Regions from separate parts of the Homo sapiens genome. Here regions 1 and 2 are each linked to region 3. Evidence: promoter capture Hi-C in 16 types of primary human blood cells and fetal thymus (Javierre and others, 2016). All regions are on one chromosome and are shown on one strand. Each heading gives the region's core, a stretch centred on a gene start or on the middle of the fragment in contact. The rest is flanking DNA. Distances are from core to core; before and after follow the strand shown. Region 1 has its middle 66 kb from the start of ALOX12. Region 2 has its middle 30 kb from the start of ASGR1. Region 3 holds the start of BCL6B (BCL6B transcription repressor).

The links. The method cuts DNA at HindIII sites, captures the fragments that hold promoters and counts their contacts. A CHiCAGO score of 5 or more calls a contact.
Region 1: a contact is called between a fragment that was not itself captured here and the fragment with the promoter of BCL6B in region 3, in 1 of 17 cell types (total CD8 T cells). The highest score is 5.0, in total CD8 T cells.
Region 2: a contact is called between a fragment that was not itself captured here and the fragment with the promoter of BCL6B in region 3, in 1 of 17 cell types (monocytes). The highest score is 6.4, in monocytes.

What each region holds. Positions count from the first base shown.
Region 1 is chr17:6,928,829-6,931,528 of GRCh38, reverse strand. No RefSeq gene overlaps it. Among named protein-coding and RNA genes, the nearest start is that of ALOX12, 66 kb to the left of the region's middle. The HindIII fragment of the contact is 4,694 bases long and covers 1-2,700 here.
Region 2 is chr17:7,148,079-7,150,778 of GRCh38, reverse strand. No RefSeq gene overlaps it. Among named protein-coding and RNA genes, the nearest start is that of ASGR1, 30 kb to the left of the region's middle. The HindIII fragment of the contact is 6,446 bases long and covers 1-2,700 here.
Region 3 is chr17:7,021,749-7,024,448 of GRCh38, reverse strand. It overlaps BCL6B (BCL6B transcription repressor), which reads right to left and starts at 1,399. Exons shown (of 9, transcript NM_181844.4): 1 at 1,350-1,399; 2 at 599-789; 3 at 145-366; 4 at 1-48. The coding sequence starts at 777. RefSeq lists a silencer at 2,306-2,445. The HindIII fragment of the contact is 4,378 bases long and covers 1-2,700 here.

The DNA of each region.
Region 1 (2,700 bases), core at 41-2,540, 93 kb after region 3:
CCAGATCTTAAATGATCATGGTAGCCGATGTTATGGGTAGCATAATTTGCTGAGTCTAGGTCATGTACCCACTGATGTCGTCATGGTGGCAAGTCAGTGTTGGCCCTGTCCTAACCACAGGGAAGGGGTTCTCTACAGAAAAGTAGAGTTTAGATCTGAGAAGGTAGTTGAGAATGAGTGCCGTATAGTGAATAATAGTAGATTTTTACCCCATTTTACCCCTTTGTCTTTGGTTGTATATATATTCACATACCATTCTAATTATACATATAGTTTCAAAAATGCCTCTGCTTCTCCAAACACAACTATACTTTATATATATTTTCAAAAACAGTTCTACCTCCTTCTTCCAAAGATAAATATCTGTGTTTTGTGTCCTCCATGGCCACCCCTAAGAGAGGTGCAAGGAGGATTTCATTCCTGGGAATTACCTACTTTAATAGCCTGGGTATTTACTGAAGGACTGAAGAATTACAGGCACCTATTTCCAGGCTTGGCATTTTTAAGCAGTATTTAAAACCTCAGTTGACATTTGATGATTCTGTGGCATAATAACCACATCCAGAGATCTTGTCTAAACCTGGACCTTGACTCTTGATCCTCATCTTGTGGTTTCTATTTCTTGCCAATAATCTATTCTGGCTTTTCCCCATCTCCCAAAATAATGCTTTCACTTTGCTGTCTGCTTTGAACAATGTGAAAGACTTGAAGGGGAAAATGAAGCTAAATAATGTGGCATTTCCCCCAAGATTATAACCTACTGGATGCATTTTTATAAGGGATATGATGCTTTTGTCTGGCAAAGAATACCTAGAATATAATATTTGAGAGAGAATCAGACTTCCCAAATTTTCTGGCTCATCCAAGACCCAATATTTTATTTATTCATTTAATCATTTTTTCAACAATTTAAAAAATTGATGGATAATAAGTTACATAGTTTCAGGGCACACATGATAACTTAATACATTCATATAATTTGTATACATCACATCAGTGTACTTGGGATATCCATCACCTTAATATTTGTCTTTATCCTAGAAATGTTTGAATTTTTCTCTTCTAATTTGAAATGTACAGTATGTTTTTGTAAACTATAGTCACCCTACTCATCTGTTGAACACTGGAGCTTATTTCTTCTCTCAACTTTATATTTGTATTGATTTATCAACTTCTTTGAATCCCCTACTTCTGCTACCCTTGCTGGCTTCTGGTAACCACCAATCTACTCTCTACCTTCATGAGATCCACTTTTTCTTAGCTTCCACATATGAGTGAGAACACGTAGTATTTGTCTCTTTGTGTCACTTAACATAATGACTTCTAGTTTTATTTATGTTGCTGCAAATGACAGGATTTTATTCCTTTTTACAGATGAATAATATTCCATTGTGTATATATACCACGTTTTCTTTAGCCATTCATTCGTTGATGGGCACTTAGATCGATTCCATATTTTGGCTATTGTGAATAGTGCTGCAATAAACATGGGCGTGCAGATAGCTCTTTGATATATTCATTTCCTTTCTTTTGGAGATATACCCAGGAGTGGGATTCCTGGATCATATGGTAGCACAATTTTTAGTTTTTTGAGGAACCTCCAAGCTATTCTGTGTAGTAGCTGTACTAATTTCCATTCCCACCAACAGTGTACAAGGGTTCCCTTTCTTCCACATCCTCGCTAGCCTGCGTTATTGCCTGTCTTCTTGATAAAAGCCATTTTAACTGGGGCGAGATGATATCTCATTGATTTGCATTTCTCTAATAATTTGTGATGTTGAATATTTTTTATATGCCTGTTGGCCATTTGTATGGCTTCTTTTGAGAAATGTCTACTCAGATCTATTGCCCATTTTTAAATTGGATTATGTTGTTTTTGTTTGTTTGTTTGTTTTTGCTATTGAGTTGTTTGAGCTCCCCATACCTTCTGGTTATTAACCCCGTCTCAGGTGGTTAGTTATATTTTCTGCCATTCTGTGGGTTTTCTCTTCACTTTATTGATTATTTCCTTTGCTATGCAGAAGTTTTTAGCTTGAAATAATCCCATTTGTCTATTTTTACTTTGTTTGCCTATGCTTTTGAGATCTGACATAAAAAAATCTTCACCCAGACCAATGTCCTGGAGTGATTCCTCAATGTTTTCTTCTAGTAGTTTCATGGTTTGAGGATTTAGATTTAATCTTTAATCAATTTTGATTTGCTTTTTGTATATGGTAAGAGAGAAGGATCCAGTTTCATTCTTCTGCATATAGTTATCTAGTTTTCTTGGCACCATTTATTGAAAAGCCTATCCTTCCCCCCATTATATGTTCTTGGTACCTTTGTTGAAGATGAGCTGGCCGTAAATGTGTGGATTTACATCTGCGTTCTCTATTCTGTCCCATTGGTCTATTCTGTCTGTTTTTATGCCAGTGTCATACTGATTTGGTTACTATAGCTTTGTAGTAAAATTTGAAGTCAGGTAGTGTAATGCCTCCAGCTTTGTTCCTTTTGCTCAGATTGCTTTGGTTATTTGGGGTCTTTTGTGGTTCCATATATGTCTTAAGATTTTTTTCTATTTCTGTAGAGAATGTAATTGGATTGCATTTAATCTGTAAATTGCTTTGAGTAGTATTATAATTTAACCAATATTAAGTATTTCAGTTCGTGAATCTGGAATATCTTTTCATTTTGTTGTGTCCCTTTCAATTTCTTTCCCAA
Region 2 (2,700 bases), core at 44-2,543, 130 kb before region 3:
GGATCACGAGGTCAGGAGATGGAGACCATCCTGGCTAACACGGTGAAACCCCGTCTCTACTAAAAATACAAAAAATACTCTGGGCGTGGTGGCGGGCGCCTGTAGTCCCAGCTACTCCGGAGGCTGAGGCAGGAGAATGGCATGAGCCTGGGAGGCGGAGCTTGCAGCGAGCCGAGATTGCAACACTGCACTCCAGCCTGGGCAACAGAGCAAGACTCCGTCTCAAAAAAAAAAAAAAAAAAAAAGGAAATACATAGACTGGGTGCGGTGGCTCACTCTTGTAATTCCAGCACTTTGGGAGGCCGAGGCGGGTGGATCACTTGAGGTCAGGAGTTCCAGACCACCCTGGCCAACATGGCGAAACCCCATCTCTACTAAAATTACAAAAATTAGCCGGGTGTGGTGGTGGGCGCCTGTAATCCCAGCTACTCGGAAGCCTGAGGCAGGAGAATCACTTGAACTCGAGAGGCAGAGGTTGCAGTGAGCTGAGATTGCACCTCTGCACTCCAGCCTGGGCAACAGAGTGAGACTCCATCTAAATAAAAAAGAAAAGAAAAGAAATAATGAATTAATTAACATATACATATTTGTAACAAACAAGAAAAGATACCCATGTTTGCTACAGCAGTTATTTCTGCCATGGTTGCAAAGCTGTAGTTGATGTAACTGCCTTCGTTTTTTTTTTTTTTTTTTTTTTTTTGAGACAGAATCTCCCTCTGTCTCCCAGGCTGGAGTGCAGTGGTGTGATCTTGGCTCACTGCAACCTCTGCCTCCTAGGTTCACGCAATTCTCCTGCCTCAGCCTCCCAAGTAGCTGGGATTACAGGCACCCGCCGCCACGCCCAGCTAATTTTTGTATTTTTAGTAGAGATGGGGTTTCACCATGTTTGCCAGGCTGGTCTCAAACTCCTGACCTCAAGTGATCCACCCACCTCAGCCTCCCAAAATGCTGGGATTACAGGCGTGAGCCACCGCGTCTGCCTGTCACTTCTTTCTTCCACTACCCATTGAATGTTCCCTCTGCCTTCAACCAGCACCTTGGCAGACAGGGGGTCTTTTTCTGATGGGAAAACACAAATCATCATTTCTGCAGGGTCTGAAGCCTTTATTGGGTTGTTATAGTTTCTGTGAAATTGTATTACAAGGCATTGGGCCCCCTGAGTTCTAGATACACCCCTTCCCCCACTGTGTAGCAGCAACCTCCTTTCCCCTTGATAACCAGGATCAGTCATCCCAGGCAGTCCAGGGACCTCTCTTTTCCTATTGCTCAGCGGTAGGAAGGGCCCCAAATGGCCACAGGGGAAACCTCCACTTCCAGTTCAGTGGAACTGATTATGTTTCCTGATGGAAGCATTTCACCCTTGGGAATTATGACCTCTAAAGTTGGTAGAACTCAAACACAGGTGAGTTATTAAATGTAATAGGGAGGCCTGGCATGGTGGCTCACCCTGTAATCCCAGCACTTTGGGAGGCCGAGGCGGGCAGATCACGAGGTCAGGAGTTCAAGACCAGCCCGGCCAACGTGGTGAAACCCCATCTCTACTAAAAAAAAAAAAAATACAAAAATCCCAGCTTCTCAGGAGGTTGAGGCAGGAGAATCACTTGAACCTGGGAGGCAGAGGTTGCAGTGAGCCAAGATTGCACAACTGCACTCCAGCCTGGGCAACAGGGCAAGACTCCGTCTCAAAAAAAAAAAAAAAAAGTAATAGGGAGAAAAACACTTTGATTTCTGGACCTGTGAATTCTCACTAGAGAGGAATTGTTCAAATGCTATGGAGTATCCTGTAGGCTGGCACCCCCATCCTGCAGGGGCCTGTCTTCCAGCTGGCATAATTGTGGAGTGTTTACTTGGTAATTCCATTGTATCAGGCAAGTTGCTTCTGGGTGATGGGGTACGTGGTAAGATCAATGGATTCCATGGCTTGAGCCCATATGCCGCAGTTCTTTTGCTGTGAGTTGCTTGCTCTGGAGTGTGTTGTGTATACTATGACAGTGAACACAGCTTTCTGAAACTCCATGGAGGACAGTGCTGGCAGGAGCACTGCGGGCAGGGAAAGGCAAACCTATACGCTGAATTATGAGTCAATTTATATGTTACACCCTTCATGAGGTCCTTCGCCATTAACTTATAAGCTGCTACCAGGTAGGTGACTGGCTGGTCTGTTATTCCCACTCCGCTCTGAGGTCCGGCCTGTGGATTCTTTCTTCTATAATACATTATACCAGGGAAGTTTGGTATCATATCAATCTCAATCAGCAGAGACCACTCCTGAGGACACCAGATATCTTTTTTTTTTTTTGAGACGGAGTCTTGCACTCTCGCCCAAGCTGGAGTGCAGTGGTGTGATCTCGGCTCACTGCAAGCTCCGCCTCCCGGGTTCACGCCATTCTCCTGCCTCAGCCTCCCGAGTAGCTGGGACTACAGGCGCCCGCCACCACACCCGGCTAATTTTTTTTTGTATTTTTAGTAGAGACAGGGTTTCACTGTGTTAGCCAGGATGGTCTCGATCTCCTGACCTCGTGATCCACCTGCCTCGGCCTCCCAAAGTGCTGGGATTACAGGTGTGAGCCGCCGCGCCCGGCCAAGAGGACACCAGATTTCAGTCAACCAACCAAGCAAATCATTAGCGCTGCTCTCAGCTACTTTGACTCACTGCAGTGAACCTAGAATCTCTAGGAAGTGCACTCTTACTAATGAAGG
Region 3 (2,700 bases), core at 150-2,649:
GGGGGTTCTGCTTCCAGGGGGCGCAGGGAGATGCCCAGAGGTTCATAGCTGGGGAAAGTGTGATGAACGTTAGTGCCATTTCCTAAACTCTGCCTTTGCCCTTAACACCTCACCCACAGAGAACGCCGAGCCAGGGTCCCTCACCTGGCCTGGATGAAGCGGTGGCATGCCTGGACCACGTGCTCCATCTGCAAATAGGTGGCGGCCGCTAGGACTGCTGGTGCAGTGGCTGGAGAGAGGCGCAGGCGCGAAGTGTACATGAAGTCCAATAGAGGGGCGAAGCCTCTCGCTTCGGGACCCCCGGGCAGAGAGAGCACGTCCACCCCGACTCCCGCACGGCCCCGGAAAATTGAATAGAAGAAGCCACTAGAGAGAGAGCAGATAAGTCCTTTGGGGGCTGGGGAACCAAGGGAGACATGCGCAGCTTCAGGAAGCCCCGCCCCCTGAAAAAGTCCCGCCTCCTCACTATCACCCCGCCCCCAATTCTGGGACGCTCCGCCTCCTGCTTCTGAAAGACTTGGCTTCGGATTCCCTCTCAACGGCCCTGTGGTCCCACCCCTTTCCCATTTGGCCCCGCCCCAGGCCCCACCCCTCGAACCTGCAGGCGATGAGAACTGCCTTGTGTGCTCTGAGGGGTTGCCCGCCAACCAGCAGCGTGACGTCAGTGAGGATCCCGCGCAGGCGCAGCTCGTTGAGGTTGCCCAGCACGTCGGAGGAGTGGCGAGTGAACTCGCGGACGTAGCCCAGCGCTCCCTCCGGGGCGGCGGGGGAACCCATAGCGACACAGGCCTGTAGAGGCCGTGGAAAGTGCTCTGGATCCAGGCAGTCCTAAGACGCCTTCCCTCCTCTGTTTGCCTTTTCCTTCCGAGGTGCAACTAGAGCCAGGACTTCCAGCCCCTAGCCCCGGCACACGCAGCCTCCCTCCTAATTCTTCTTGTTCATTCTGCCCTCTACGACACCCTCGCTCCCTTGCCTCTTCCAGATCCCACAGCGCTTGGAGCCAGTTGAAGGTTCCACACCGCGGCGTCGTTGGCGAGCGTGGGGAATCCCGCGCCCATCGCCCTGGGTTCGACCCCCAGTGCCCCTCCAGCACCGCCACTCCCCTCTGCGCGCCTGTGTCTCAGGTGTCCAACCCTGCCTCGAGATCTCACGGCCTGCCGTCCACACACCTCCAAATCCCAGCCGAGGCTCCCTTCCCCGAACTACGGAATTCTGCGACTCCTATCTAGTCCCCAATCCCTAGTTTAGCCCAATTTCTGGGACTCAGGCTCGCTGATGGCAAGCTCCACACAAGCTCCTACCCTCTTGGGGGACCCAGGAGTCTGGCTCCCTCAGTCTCTTGTTCTTACCCCCGTCCTGCAGGGGCCGCGGCTTCTCTTCTTAAGGGGGGCGGGGTCTCTCTCCCCTCTTGGCCTCGGCTCCTTTATCTGGCCGGGATGTCGGGGGCGGGGGTGGAGGTGGGGTGAACGCCTGGGTCTGTATCCTTCCTTCCTCCCTCGCTCTCCAGATGGCGAGTCCAGGGCGGGGTCTCCGTCTCGAGGGCGGGACCTCAGAAACAAGGGGTGGTCGTAACGTAGGGGGTCTTGGGTCACTGCAAGTGGACACGAGGACGGGGATATTGGAATTGGGGAGGAGGTTAGGGATATCGAGGTTGGCAATACGGGAGTCTGAGTCGTCGGAAGGCCTGGGCCAGTGAAAATTGGTGTGTTGGCTTTTGGGAGGGTTTGCCAGGAGCCAACCTTTGCTGCAGGACAAAGTGCATACGGCAACCCCCTCTCCCTCTCTTGTACTGTGTTAAGGGAGAAAAGGGGGAGCCCAACGAGACAGCAGGTTTGGGCAGACGACAGTGGGCTCCCGTAGGGTCTCAGACGGGGAGGGTGTGGTGTGAATGACAGGCTACTCTACCCGGGCCTACAAAAAGGGGGGCTCTGGCCGGGCGGGGTACGGAGAGGGCGGATATGATTTCTAGTTGGTTTCCTTCCATTGTCCTGCGACCGGACGGCTCCGCCAGCTGCTTCCCCTCGAGGAGGTGGGGAAAGCCCCGAGGTGGGGGTGGAGGGGCGAGAGACGCTCGGGAGACCTAGGCGTCCGGCCTCTCTCGCTCCCGACTCTCTTCTGGGTCCTTGTAGGGATCCAGAGAGATGGACTCCCGCCCAAAGCCCGCTTGCTTTCCCCCAATCCCAGCTCACGAGGGCCTCGGGCACCCGCCCGTCGGCTACGCTTGGAGGCTGGCGGGACGCCGGGGTCCAGCGCGGCAAGTAGGCAAGGCTCGGCAATGTGCGGCTCCTTCCACGAGGGGGCGGCCGAGCACTGGCCTCGCCTCGCCCCTCGTCTCCACCCGGCCTGGGGTGCGCTCAGACCCGGGCGCAGGATCCATTTGGTCTGGGCGGCTGAAACCTTTAGCCTCCTCCCCTTTGCGCGGGTTTATTTTGCACCTCTGTCTCCTAGGAGGGGACTAGGGCTGGGCGGAGGGAGCTAGAGTTAGGAGACCGAGGGGACTTTCCCCTCAGGCTGGGGTTCCTACCCGAGGTGAGAAATCGCGGGCTTTAGGAGCCAGGGGAATGGGTGGGACAAGAAGCGGGACCTGAGCCTGGGAACTCCGGGTTTTCTTTTCGAATTAAGCTAGACACTGCTACCCAGATGTCTTTGGAGGTGACTTTTAATTGAACATTAAAATTGGGTGGGGTAAACGAGAAGGGA